Linked DNA regions of Homo sapiens: regions 1 and 3 are each linked to region 2. The links are contacts of gene promoters, found by promoter capture Hi-C in blood cells and fetal thymus (Javierre and others, 2016). All regions are on one chromosome and are shown on one strand. Each heading gives the region's core, a stretch centred on a gene start or on the middle of the fragment in contact. The rest is flanking DNA. Distances are from core to core; before and after follow the strand shown. Region 1 has its middle 29 kb from the start of MIR593. Region 2 holds the start of ARF5 (ARF GTPase 5). Region 3 has its middle 59 kb from the start of MIR593.

Region 1 (3,448 bases), core at 641-3,140, 520 kb before region 2:
GTGGTTACAGCCAGGGGTCCCGGGGCCGTGGGCACTCCTACACTGCTGTGGGCCACGCCTTCTGGCTCTGAAGGGGCTGAGTGAAAGGAAGCACCCGAGGGAGGCGGTAGGAAGGCTTCAGCTGGGAGGCAGGGCATCGACTTCCAGCACCGTCTCTGCCCTGGCTGGTGCTGCTGTGCGCCCAGCCTTCCATGCCCAGGGAGTGCTGATGTAGTTTGGTGCCTCAGTTTCTCTTTTCTGCAAAATCAGCAGGGCCATGTTCTCTTTATGGGAAAGCTCTAGGGAAGAATTGCTTACCTCTTCTAATTTTTGGTGGCTTGTGGTGTTTCTTGGCTGGGGTTGCATAACTCTAAATCTCTGCGGCTCTGCCTGCCTTCCTCAGACAGTCTTCTCCCCTGTGTCTCACGTCGCCCTTTCCTTTCCCCTGTAAGGACAGCAGTCGCTGAATTTAGGGCCCACCCTGGATCTCATCTTGAAATTCTTATGACTGTGGTCTGAATGTTTTCTATACAATTCATACATTGAAACTGGATCCTTCGTGTGACAGTGTTAGAAGGTGGGGCCTTTGGGAGATGATGAGTTCGTGAGGGCTCTGTCCTCATGGCATTAATGCTCTTATAAAAGGGACCCCAGACGCCAGGTGCATAGACTTATGCCTGTAATTCCAGCACTTTGGGAGGCCAAGGCAGGCAGATCACCTGAGGTCAAGAGTTCAAGACCAGCCTGGCCAACATGGCAAAACTCTGTCTTCACTAAAAAAATACAAAAATTATCCAGGCATGGTGGTGCATGCCTGTAGCCTCAGCTACTCGGGAGACTAGAGGCAGCTACTTGGGAGACTTCGGAGGCAGAATTGCTTGAACCTGGGAGGCAGAGGTTGCAGTGAGCCAAGACTGGGCCACTCCAGCCTGGGCAACACAATGAGACACTGACTCAGAAAAAAAAAAAGGAACCCCCAGGGAGCTAACTATCCCATTCTACCATGTAAAGACACAGCACAACAGTGCCATCTGTGAAGTAGAGAGCAAATCCAAATCCACACCAGACACTGAACCTGCCAGCACCTTGATCTTGGACTTCCCAGCCTCCAGAACTATGAGCAATACATTCTGTTGTTTATAAGCCACCCAGTTTGTGATATTTTTTTCTTTTAGCAGCTTGAATGGACTAAGACAAGTACTATCTTAATTATATTTGCAAAGACCCTATTTCCAAGTAAGGTCACATGCACAGGTACTAGGGGTCTGGACTTGGACATATCTTTTGGGGGAACACTATTCAGTTCACTACAGCCAGGTGCTTGTGCAGATGCTCCTTAGTTCTGTCCCCTACCTGCAGTGTGACAAGGTCAGAGGGCACTGCAGTTGGAGGGCATGAGGCCTACAGAGGAAGCTGTTTGCCAGAGAGCTGCTTCTGTGCTGGGCTGCCCACTTCCCTCCTACACCTGGTGCAAATGAGAAGTTCAGCCAGCATCTGAGCCCTCAGCTCAGAGTCAAGGTTTACACCCAGTTCTTCTCCTTCCTTCTGCAGGAAAGAGCCAGACAATAAGAAAAAATAGGAAGAAAGGAGGTTGAATGAAAGAAATCTGAGCCTTTCAGAATGTGCACCACCTGGGCAGAGAAGAAGAAACAGAGGTGACAAGTGGGAAGACCTCCGGGCCTGAAATTCCCTGTCATGCTGCAGCTCCGGACCTGCCCCTACCTGAGTGGGGAGCAGAGGGGTGGACTGACACCTCAGACCCCTGGGCAGCTCTTGGCAAACTCACATGCTTGTCTTCAGCAATCCTGGCTTCATTTGGGGCTCTTTTCAAACCCAGGGCCTTCCCTGGGGAACCCAGGCCCCTAGCATCCTACCCACCTTCAGTAGTTGCCACACACACACACACACACACACACACACATTCTCTCTTTCTGTCTCTTCTCAGACATGTGTCTCATTCCCTTAGGCCTTCTTTTCTCAGCTTTTCAGGTGATAGGGAGCTAATCCTACCAACAAATTCAAACCAACTTGAGAGCTAATGGCTGAAACTGTTAATGATCGCTAACAAAATGAGTCCTAGGGGCGGGGTGGGGTGTGTGTGTGTGTATTTTGCATTTCTGTGCAGAAGTGTTGCAGGAACTCAGGGACCCCGAATGGAATGACTGGCTGGAGCCGTGGCAGAGGAACATAAATTGTGAAGATTTCATGGACATTTATCAGTTCCCAAATAATGCTTTTATAATTTCTTATGCCTGTCTTTACTTTAATCTCTTAATCCTGTTACTTTCATAGGCTGAGTATGTACGTCACCTCAGGACCACTGTGATAATTGTGTTAATTGTACAAATTGATTGTAAAACATGTGTGTTTGAACAATATGAAATCAGTGCACCTTGAAAATGAACAGAATAACAGCGATTTTAGGGAACAAGGGAAGACATCCATAAGGTCTGACTGCCTGAGGGGTAGGGCAAAAAGAGCCATATTTTTCTTCTTGCAGAGAGCCTATAAATGGACATGCAAGTAGGGAAGATATCACTAAATTCTTTTCCTAGCAAGGAATATTAATATTAATACCCTGGGGAAGGAATGCATTCCTGGGGGGAGTCTATAAACAGCCGCTCTGGGGACGTCTATCCTATGTGGTTGAGATAAGGACTGAGATATGCCCTGGTCTCCTGCAGTACCCTCAGGCTTACTAGGGTGGGGAAAAACCGGGCCCTGGTAAATCTGTGGTCAGACCAGCTCTCTGCTCTCGAACCCTGTTTTCTGTTGTTTAAGATGTTTATCAAGACAATATGTGCACTGCTGAAGACAGACCCTTATCAGTGGTTCTCCTTTTTGCCCTTTGAAGCATGTGATCTACTCCCTGTTCTTAGACACCCTCCCCTTTTGAAACCCTTAATAAAAAACTTGCTGGTTTGAGGTTCAGGTGGGCATCACGGTCCTACCGATATGTGATGTCGCCCCCGGCGGCCCAGCTGCAAAATTCCTCTCTTTGTACTCTCTCCTTATTTCTCAGCTGGCTGACACTTATGGAAAATAGAAAGAGCCTACGTTGAAATACTGGGGGCGGGTTCCCCCGATACAGAAGAGGCTTTAGCTCAAAGAAAGGAACCCCTGATGCTGGCAGCGAGACATATTTTTGGATTGAGGGGCTTTGTCAGAGCTCTGGATGTGTCGCGTATGTTGACCACATATACACAGCTGCTGCTGGGTCACCTCCAAGTGGCCCAGGCTGCCCTTTGCCCTACACTTGTTGGGACACAGGCCTTTGTCAACCCACCTGGGAACAGGTCTTGGTGGATCAGCGTCTCAGACAGGTCTAGCTAGGTCACATTGACATGCCTCGGGATCTATTTATTACCGTTTCCTCCTGTTTGCAAGATGAAACAACTCAGTAACACGCCTACCCAAGGTCACACACAGTACAGCTTCTTTGATGGAAGCCCAGGTGTGTTCTGTCTCT
Region 2 (3,692 bases), core at 1,068-3,567:
GGAAAAGGCAGGAATGTAAAATGTTTCTCTTTGCCACATATAAGTCCCATCTCTCCCACAACTTCTCAGACTCAGATGTAAAGACATGAGAATGCGGCCGGGCGCAGTGGCTCACTCCTGTAATCCCAGCACTTTGGGAGACCAAGACGGGTGGATCACCTGAGGTTGGGGGTTCAAGACCAGCCTGGCCAACATGGTGAAACCCCGTCTCTACTAAAAATACAAAAATTAACTGGGCATGGCAGCGGGCGCCTGTAATCCCAGCTACTTGGGAGGCTGAGGCAGGAGAATTGCTTGAACCCGGGAGACGGAGGTTGCAGTGAGCCGAGATTGCACCATTGCACTCCAGCCTGGGCAACAACAGCAAAACTCCCATTTCAAAAAAAAAAAAAGACAAGACAATGCACAGAAAAAGTGAAAAAGTCACTCCCATCCAAAACAGGGTGAGATACACAATGTGTCTGTCCACAAAGAAAAACTTATATTCCTGGTCTTCAATGCCTGTTGGGGGCTCCCTGACTTCTATACCACTACAGAGATCACTCTGTCCCCAAGCTGAGGGCTCAGTTCCCAGGGCTCTGGGTACTCACCATCTTCTGGAGTTCATCAGCAGATTCTTGGACCCGCTCCCGGTCATTACTGTCCACCACAAAGATGAGGCCCTGGGCAGGAAGGAAGGAAGAAAGGAGAAGCAATCACTTCTGCCTGGGACATACCGTAGTGTGGCCCTTTCTGTTTTCTTCCCATTTGTAATTGTGTCAATCCTTCTCATCTAGTAAACTCTACAGAAGTTTACAGAACTCTATAGAAGCTCTACAGGAGTCATGGCACAAACTAGAGACCCCACTGCAAAGAGGAAGTAGTTTATCCAAAGATGTGCAAGGAAATAAAGACATGTTATGAGGGCTAAATCAGGCAGCCTGGTCCCAGAATCCTGCTTCTAAAGAGAAGTCCAAGCTGGGGAAGACTAAGGTGAGTTCTGAAGAGTGAGTAGGGGATAGCCAAACAGAAGGGGTAGAAGTGGGGAAGGGTTTTTTCCTTGGCCTGGGGGCCCAGCCTAGGCCAACAATTCTGTTCTCCCAGCCCTAACACCTTTTCCCGTGGGGTTAGAAAGTCCCCTCCCAACACTCCACCTGAGTGTTCTGGAAGTAGTGCCGCCACAGAGGCCGAATCTTGTCCTGGCCTCCCACGTCCCAGACTGTGAAACAGATGTTCTTATATTCCACTGTTTCTACATTGAAGCCTGCAGATAATTGGAAAAAAAAGATGAGAAAACTCCTGAAAGAAAGGAACTCACTAAAACTACTTAGATTTCAGCAGGGACACAAAACCAGAAGGCAATGATCAAGGCCCAGGGGAACAGAACCCCAGAACTGGCGGTCAACAGGGCGGGGCTAGGTCACATCCACCCTGCCTCCGGTATCCACGTAGAGATACCCTGACCCACTTCTCAAATAGCTGTATCTGGTGTCAGGGTCAGCTCCAGAAAAGTGGCAGAACTGGGAGCAGACCCCGCGAGGGCCCGCCGCGGCGCTCCCGCTCCCTGCTTCGTCCCCGGGCTCACCTATGGTTGGGATGGTGGTGACAATCTCCCCCAACTTCAGTTTGTACAGGATTGTGGTCTTGCCAGCCGCATCCAAGCCAACTGCAACGGAAAGGGGCACAGGGATGGAGATGGGAGCGAGGGAGCCCCCTAGAGACCAGGGAAAGGGAGAGGCCACAACAGCTGATGGTGACTGGGGCGGAGAGCGGGAGCGCCTCCAGGTGCGCGTCGTTATCTACCTTTGAGGCCTGGAGGGCAGTCGGGTGGCGTGAGCCAACTCCAAAGAGGGCGCGGAGCGGGAGAGGACTGGGAGGCAAGGGGCACGGGAGGTAGGCCGCGCTCGTTTTAAAAGTCGTCTCCAAGGGCGGAATCCTCCCTTCTTACCAGCCGGGCTGGGGCGGAGGGAGCTTCACCCCACCCAGGCCCGCAGCTCCGGGTGTCAGGCCCCGGGGTCGGCGATGCAGACCGGGACCCGCCCGAGAGCAGAGGCCCCGGGGCGTTATGAGGTGGGTGACTCGGGGCCAGAGACCCAGGTGAGCGGGGCTGGAGGGACGCGGGGGCGGAAGGGCTGCGCCGGGGCCGGCGCCCCGGTCCGGGCCGCGCGCTCGATCTGCCTCACCCATGAGAATCCGCATCTGCTTCTTCCCGAAGATCCGCGAAAAGAGCGCGGACACGGTGAGGCCCATGGCGGGGCCCGGGGAGGGGCGCGGGCACCGACGCGGGGTGCGGGCTGGAACTGGCCGGCCGCGGGGGGATGGGGCGCAGCAGCAGCAGGAGGAGGCTCCGCCGCCGCCTCCGCGCGTCGCTGCCCTCCCGACGTCACCGCGGGCCCGCCCCCGTCCGGGCCCCGCCCCCGGCTCTCGGCCCCGCCTCCCCCGGCTCTGGCTCCTAGGGGAGCTGAAGCTCCGCGAGTTGCCGCTGCTGGCCTGGGTCCCGTGCGGCCCTTACTTGGGAACGGGTCTAGGTCTCTAACGCGCCTGCCAGGCCTGTGGCCGCCGAACCGGCAGCCCGAGCGCGGCTGAGGAAAGGATTCATCGCTCCGCAGCGGCCCCTGCCCCCATTTTCAGTGGCCGGCCGCTGGGCTTTGGTTTGTTGCGTCCAGGCCCCTAGGGGCTCCGGTTTTAGCCCTTGGGAACCAGTAGCACTGAACGTGTGCACCACTCTCCTTTGGGGAGTGGAAGCTGCGATTAGGGGTCTTGGTCCTCCCTTTACTGCCTCATCTTCCACCGAGGGACTTGCGCGTAGTAGGTGGTCGTGTGAAGAGTGCGCGGGAGGTAGGGGAAGGTGCCCGAGTGCTAGCTAGCTTCCATGGTTCCTCAAAACGCCTACTTCCTAATTCCCAATCCGCAGAACCAGTGTAAGATTCCCGGCCTTGGGCGGCGGGGTCACAGACCCACTCCTGGGCTGTTGGAGAAGTCCACCTTCGTTTGGATCGCCCTGCGGGCCCCGCCTCTCAGTCCAGGCGCTGGCCGCTTTGCCGAAGTTCCTCACTTTGCCACAGACTTGTGGACCTGGCTTATTCTTGCACATCCATTCAGGATTTTGTGAAGATCTTGACTCCGTAGACCCAAAGAGCTTCACATGTCATTTCCCTGCCTCATTTTAACATCTGAGAGGAGAATAGCAAAATAGGAATGAAATTCTTCTGCGGTGGAGACTGGCTCATTGCCAGGCATTATTAGGCCTAACAAATGCTTGTTCAGTTGAACTGGACTGATAGATTCTCAATGGAGCGAGGGTAGGTGTTATGTCTACTCTGGATTCCCAGTGGGCTTCTAGGATCAATTGTTTATGGACTCGAGGTAAACTGAGCTGGGAATAAAAAAACCTTCACTCATTCATTTGCTTTTTCAGCAGATATTTACTGAGCACCCACCACTTGCCAGCACGTGATTTCAGGCTTTAGTTCAAATCTTAATTCTGCCATTTCTTGAGGATTTGGCTTCAGCACTCCTCATAACTCTTCCGTTATTTCATCATCTATAAAATGAGACTTGTTCTAACTTAAGGGGTTATGGTGAATCTTAAAATGATTTGATAATGTGACTGAATGTTATGTATAATACAGCTTGATGTTATTTGGGCCACTGAGAAACGGGGTCTGAACAGACCTCCAGGGCCTGCCCCATCCTGATCTGCAAAGTCTGTA
Region 3 (3,764 bases), core at 850-3,349, 550 kb before region 2:
GGGGGAAGAAAGATACTACCCAAGGATGGTTATTCCCTATATATTTTTCTCGGCTCCTCACAAGTATGGGGCTTCTAATTTTACTCTCAATGACCCCTGGACCAAAGGTCTGAGTCACAGCAGCTGTGCACAGAGCAGGTACTAAGCTCCCAAAGTAACAGCAGAGAACAACTCCAAGAAGCAAGAGAACAACTCCAACAGTTCTCAGGGGATCCTTAGAGCTTTCTTGGTTTCTCTAGCATTGATCTCTAGAGAAGGAGCCAGAAGTTATGCTAGTCCAGCTTCCTGGTAAGAAACAGACTGCATCCTGTTCTCATTTCATGCATGCAAAATGTCTCTTTTTGCCTTTGAAGATATGTATGATAGCTCTTTTTATTTCTTAAAGCTTTCTTTTATAGTCTGTTTCTGCCAGCTTGTTCTTTATTGGCCCCTATTTTTCAGGTTAGAGGCTTTCTTCAGATGTTGATAATCCTTGGTTGTCTGCTTATGACCAAGAGCGAGAAGCCACAATGCTGTTTGAAAGCTCTGAGCCCATGGGAGGGGTGGGAGGTGGGGTGGGAATGTCAACTCTGAGCTTCTTTGCCGAGCCATCCGGATGGATGGTTTGGTGGAGCCCAGTGTTAGTACTTTTAGGTCTTTCTTTTTGGGAACCTAATAGCAAAGAACGCCAGACAGTTTCAGCGTTCGTGAAGCATATATTAATAATTCTCTCTTTCTTGGATACAGTCTCCATAACTGGATTTCTCAGTCCAGAAAAATACTTCCCCCAGCTTCTGCCAGGGTGGGAGAGGGCATTGCTTTGCAGTGTAAAACTAGGAGAGTGCTGAGATCCTGGGTCTAACTGCTTCCTAAACAGCTTTCAATCAGTTATCCCTATTTATCCCCATCCATCACACCCCATCCCAGCAGTGGCAGAGGCTGTGAGGATGCCGCTGGGTCAGGTGGTGTCCTACTTAACCACTGTCAGCTTGGGATATGGCATTCTTGGACCTGCTAAGTCAGCAACTTCTTTCCCATCTGCTTCCCAGTTTCTAAAATGTTATTGCTCGTAACTTCTCTCCTGTTTTTCTTGTCCTTGTAGAGTTATGTCTATATTTTAAAATCCCTTTGCTGTAATTTTAGTGGAATATCAGGAGGAAAAAAAATTAGATTCATGCGTTCAATTTGCCGTCTTTGCCTGAAAGCCTACATTTTTTATGTAGGAAATTCATTACATCTGCAACTAACAACAGTGTTTTCTTTCTTTCTATTCTTACATCTTTTCTTGCTCTTTTTCCTTTTTGTCATTTTGCATAGGCTCTCACATGCAATTCTGAGTAGAAGTGCTAGCAGGAATTTTTGTCTTGGTTCTGATTTCTGTAGGAATGATTCCAAAGGGACTCCTATGCTGTGTTTGCCACTAGTTTTTTGATAGATCCTTTTTGCCAGTTTCATTACACAAGTTTATGTTTTGATTATAAGCAACAGAAAATAGCACAAAAGAGCAGTTTAAACAAGTTAGAAGTTTATTTATTTATAGATATGGGGTCTTGCCATGCTGCCCAGGCTGGGATGCACTAGCTATTTGCAGGCACAATCACTGCGTACTACAGCCTTGAGCTCCTGGGCTCAAGTGATCATCTTGCCTCAGCCTCAGTTGCTGAGTAGCTGGGACTACAGGTGTGCACTACCACAATGGGCTGAAGTTTATTTCTATCAGCAGTCCCAAGCTGGAGTGCAAGTTCCTAAATCCTTAGAGACTTGGGCTCTCTCCATTCTTTCTCCTCTGTCTTCAATATGAGGCTCACATCTCATGGTCCAAAATGGCTGCTCTAACATTAGCCAGCAAGTCTGCATTCCAGGATGCAGGAATGAGAAAAAGGAAAGGGAAGGGCATCCCCCTGCCATCCCCCTAAGGACTTTATAATGGGACTTCATAGAAGTTTTACACATCATTTCTTTTTTTTTTTTCTTTTTTTGAGACGGAGTCTCGCTCTGTTGCCCAGGCTGGAGTCTCCTGCCTCAGCCTCCTAAGTAGCTGGGACTACAGGCGCCCGCTACCACGCCCAGCTAATTTTTTGTATTTTTAGTAGAGACGGGGTTTCACCATGTTAGCCAGGATGGTCTTGATCTCCTGACCTCATGATCTGCCTGCCTCGGCCTCCCAAAGTGCTGGGATTACAGGCATGAGCCACTGTGCCAGGGCTCATCATTTCTATTTACATCCCACTGGCCAGAACAGATTCATGGGAGCCCACCTAGCTGCAAGGGAGTCTGGGGAAGGTAGTTTTTAATTTTAGACTGTTATGTGCTTGGCTAATTTGATGAGTTTCTAGTTTTACCTTTATCCATAGTAATACTAATACTCCTCTTCATTCTTAATATAACTTATGACTTTTATTCCTCAACCTGATTTTATGTTGTTAATCTTTTCTATTGTTTTCTATTTCACTAATCTCTACTCTACGTCTTTATTATTTCCTTCCATTTATTTTTTAATTGTTGGTTTTTTCCAGCTCTTTGCAGTGAATGCTTAACTCAATTGTTATTATTTTGTTTTGTTCCTTAATAAATTTATTTAAGATGATAAATTTATCATCATGCACTGCTTTAACTGCATTCCATAAGTTTTGATATGTAAAACTCTCACTGTTACTCAGTTATAAATACTTTGTACATCTCATTTGATTTTTTTTCAAACTGTAAATTAAGTTTCTCAAAATGTGAAAATGGTATTTGTATTAGTCTGTTCCCATGCTGCTATAAAGATACCACCTGAGACTGGGTAATTTATAAAGAAAGGAGGTTTAATTGACTCACAGTTCCACATTGCTGAGGATGCCTCAGGAAACTTACAATCATGAGGGTAGGCAAAGGAGAAGCAAGTACCTTCTTCAGAAGGTGGTAGAAGAGAGGGAGAAGGGAAAGGAAAGAGGGAGGGAGGGAGGCAGGGAGGGAGAGAAAGAAAGAGAAGAGGGGGAACTGCCAAACACTTTTAAAGCATCAGATCTTGTGTGCACTCACTATCAGGAGAACAGCATGGGGGAAACCGCCCCCATGATCCAGTCACCTCCCACCAGGTTGCTCCCTCCACACCTGGGGATTACAAGTCGAGATGAGATTTGAGTGGGGACACAGAGCCAAATCATATCAGTATTTGTTTGTTTGGTTTATTTTTACTACATTTAAAATCATTTAAAAATGTAATTGGCTGGGTCAGTGGCTCACACATATTATCTCAACACTTTGGGAGGCTGAGGCAGGCAGGTGGCTTGAGTTTAGGAGTTCAACATGGTGAACTGGGCAACATGGTGAGACTCTGTCTCTACAAAAAAATTTTTTTTTTATATTAGCCATCATGGTGGTGCACACCTGTAGTCCTAGCTATTCAGGAGGTTGAGGTGGGAGGATCGCTTGAATCTGGGAGGCCAAGGCTGCAGTGAGCCATGATCATGCCACTGTACTCCAACATGGGCGACAGAAAGAGACATTGTCTCAAAAACAATAACAACAACAACAACAAAAAGCCCAACTTTGTCTGATATTAGCATTGCTATATTAACTTCCTTTGTTTTGTATTTTTTATGATATATCTTTTCCATGTCTTTAATTTCAATTATATTTCATGGTTTTGTTTTAAGCATGTTACTTATAAGCAGTATATAGATGCTTTTTAAAAAAATTCAATCTAGTGAATTTAATCAGTTTTCATTTAATTTGATTACTGATTATTTGGACTCATTTCTACCACCTTATTTTGTCATATATGTTTACGTCCTTTTTCT

What was found. Contacts are between HindIII fragments. The CHiCAGO score rates a contact against its expected background, and 5 or more counts as called.
Region 1: a fragment that was not itself captured here is called in contact with the fragment with the promoter of ARF5 in region 2 in 2 of 17 cell types (neutrophils and M0 macrophages); the score reaches 5.4 in neutrophils.
Region 3: a contact is called between a fragment that was not itself captured here and the fragment with the promoter of ARF5 in region 2, in 3 of 17 cell types (M2 macrophages, non-activated CD4 T cells and fetal thymus). The highest score is 5.9, in M2 macrophages.

What each region holds. Positions count from the first base shown.
Region 1 is chr7:128,109,127-128,112,574 of GRCh38, reverse strand. No RefSeq gene overlaps it. Among named protein-coding and RNA genes, the nearest start is that of MIR593, 29 kb to the right of the region's middle. The HindIII fragment of the contact is 9,648 bases long and covers 1-3,448 here.
Region 2 is chr7:127,587,036-127,590,727 of GRCh38, reverse strand. It overlaps ARF5 (ARF GTPase 5), which reads right to left and starts at 2,317. Exons shown (of 6, transcript NM_001662.4): 1 at 2,163-2,317; 2 at 1,565-1,645; 3 at 1,134-1,243; 4 at 591-662. The coding sequence starts at 2,229. LOC105375490 (a long non-coding RNA gene) reads left to right here and starts at 882. Exons shown (of 5, transcript XR_007060511.1): 1 at 882-972. LOC105375489 (a long non-coding RNA gene) reads left to right here. Exons shown (of 3, transcript XR_007060513.1): 3 at 777-859. RefSeq lists enhancers at 991-1,616, 1,617-2,243, 2,244-2,869, 2,870-3,496 and a silencer at 1,991-2,480. The HindIII fragment of the contact is 7,240 bases long and covers 1-3,692 here.
Region 3 is chr7:128,139,109-128,142,872 of GRCh38, reverse strand. No RefSeq gene overlaps it. Among named protein-coding and RNA genes, the nearest start is that of MIR593, 59 kb to the right of the region's middle. The HindIII fragment of the contact is 3,424 bases long and covers 388-3,764 here.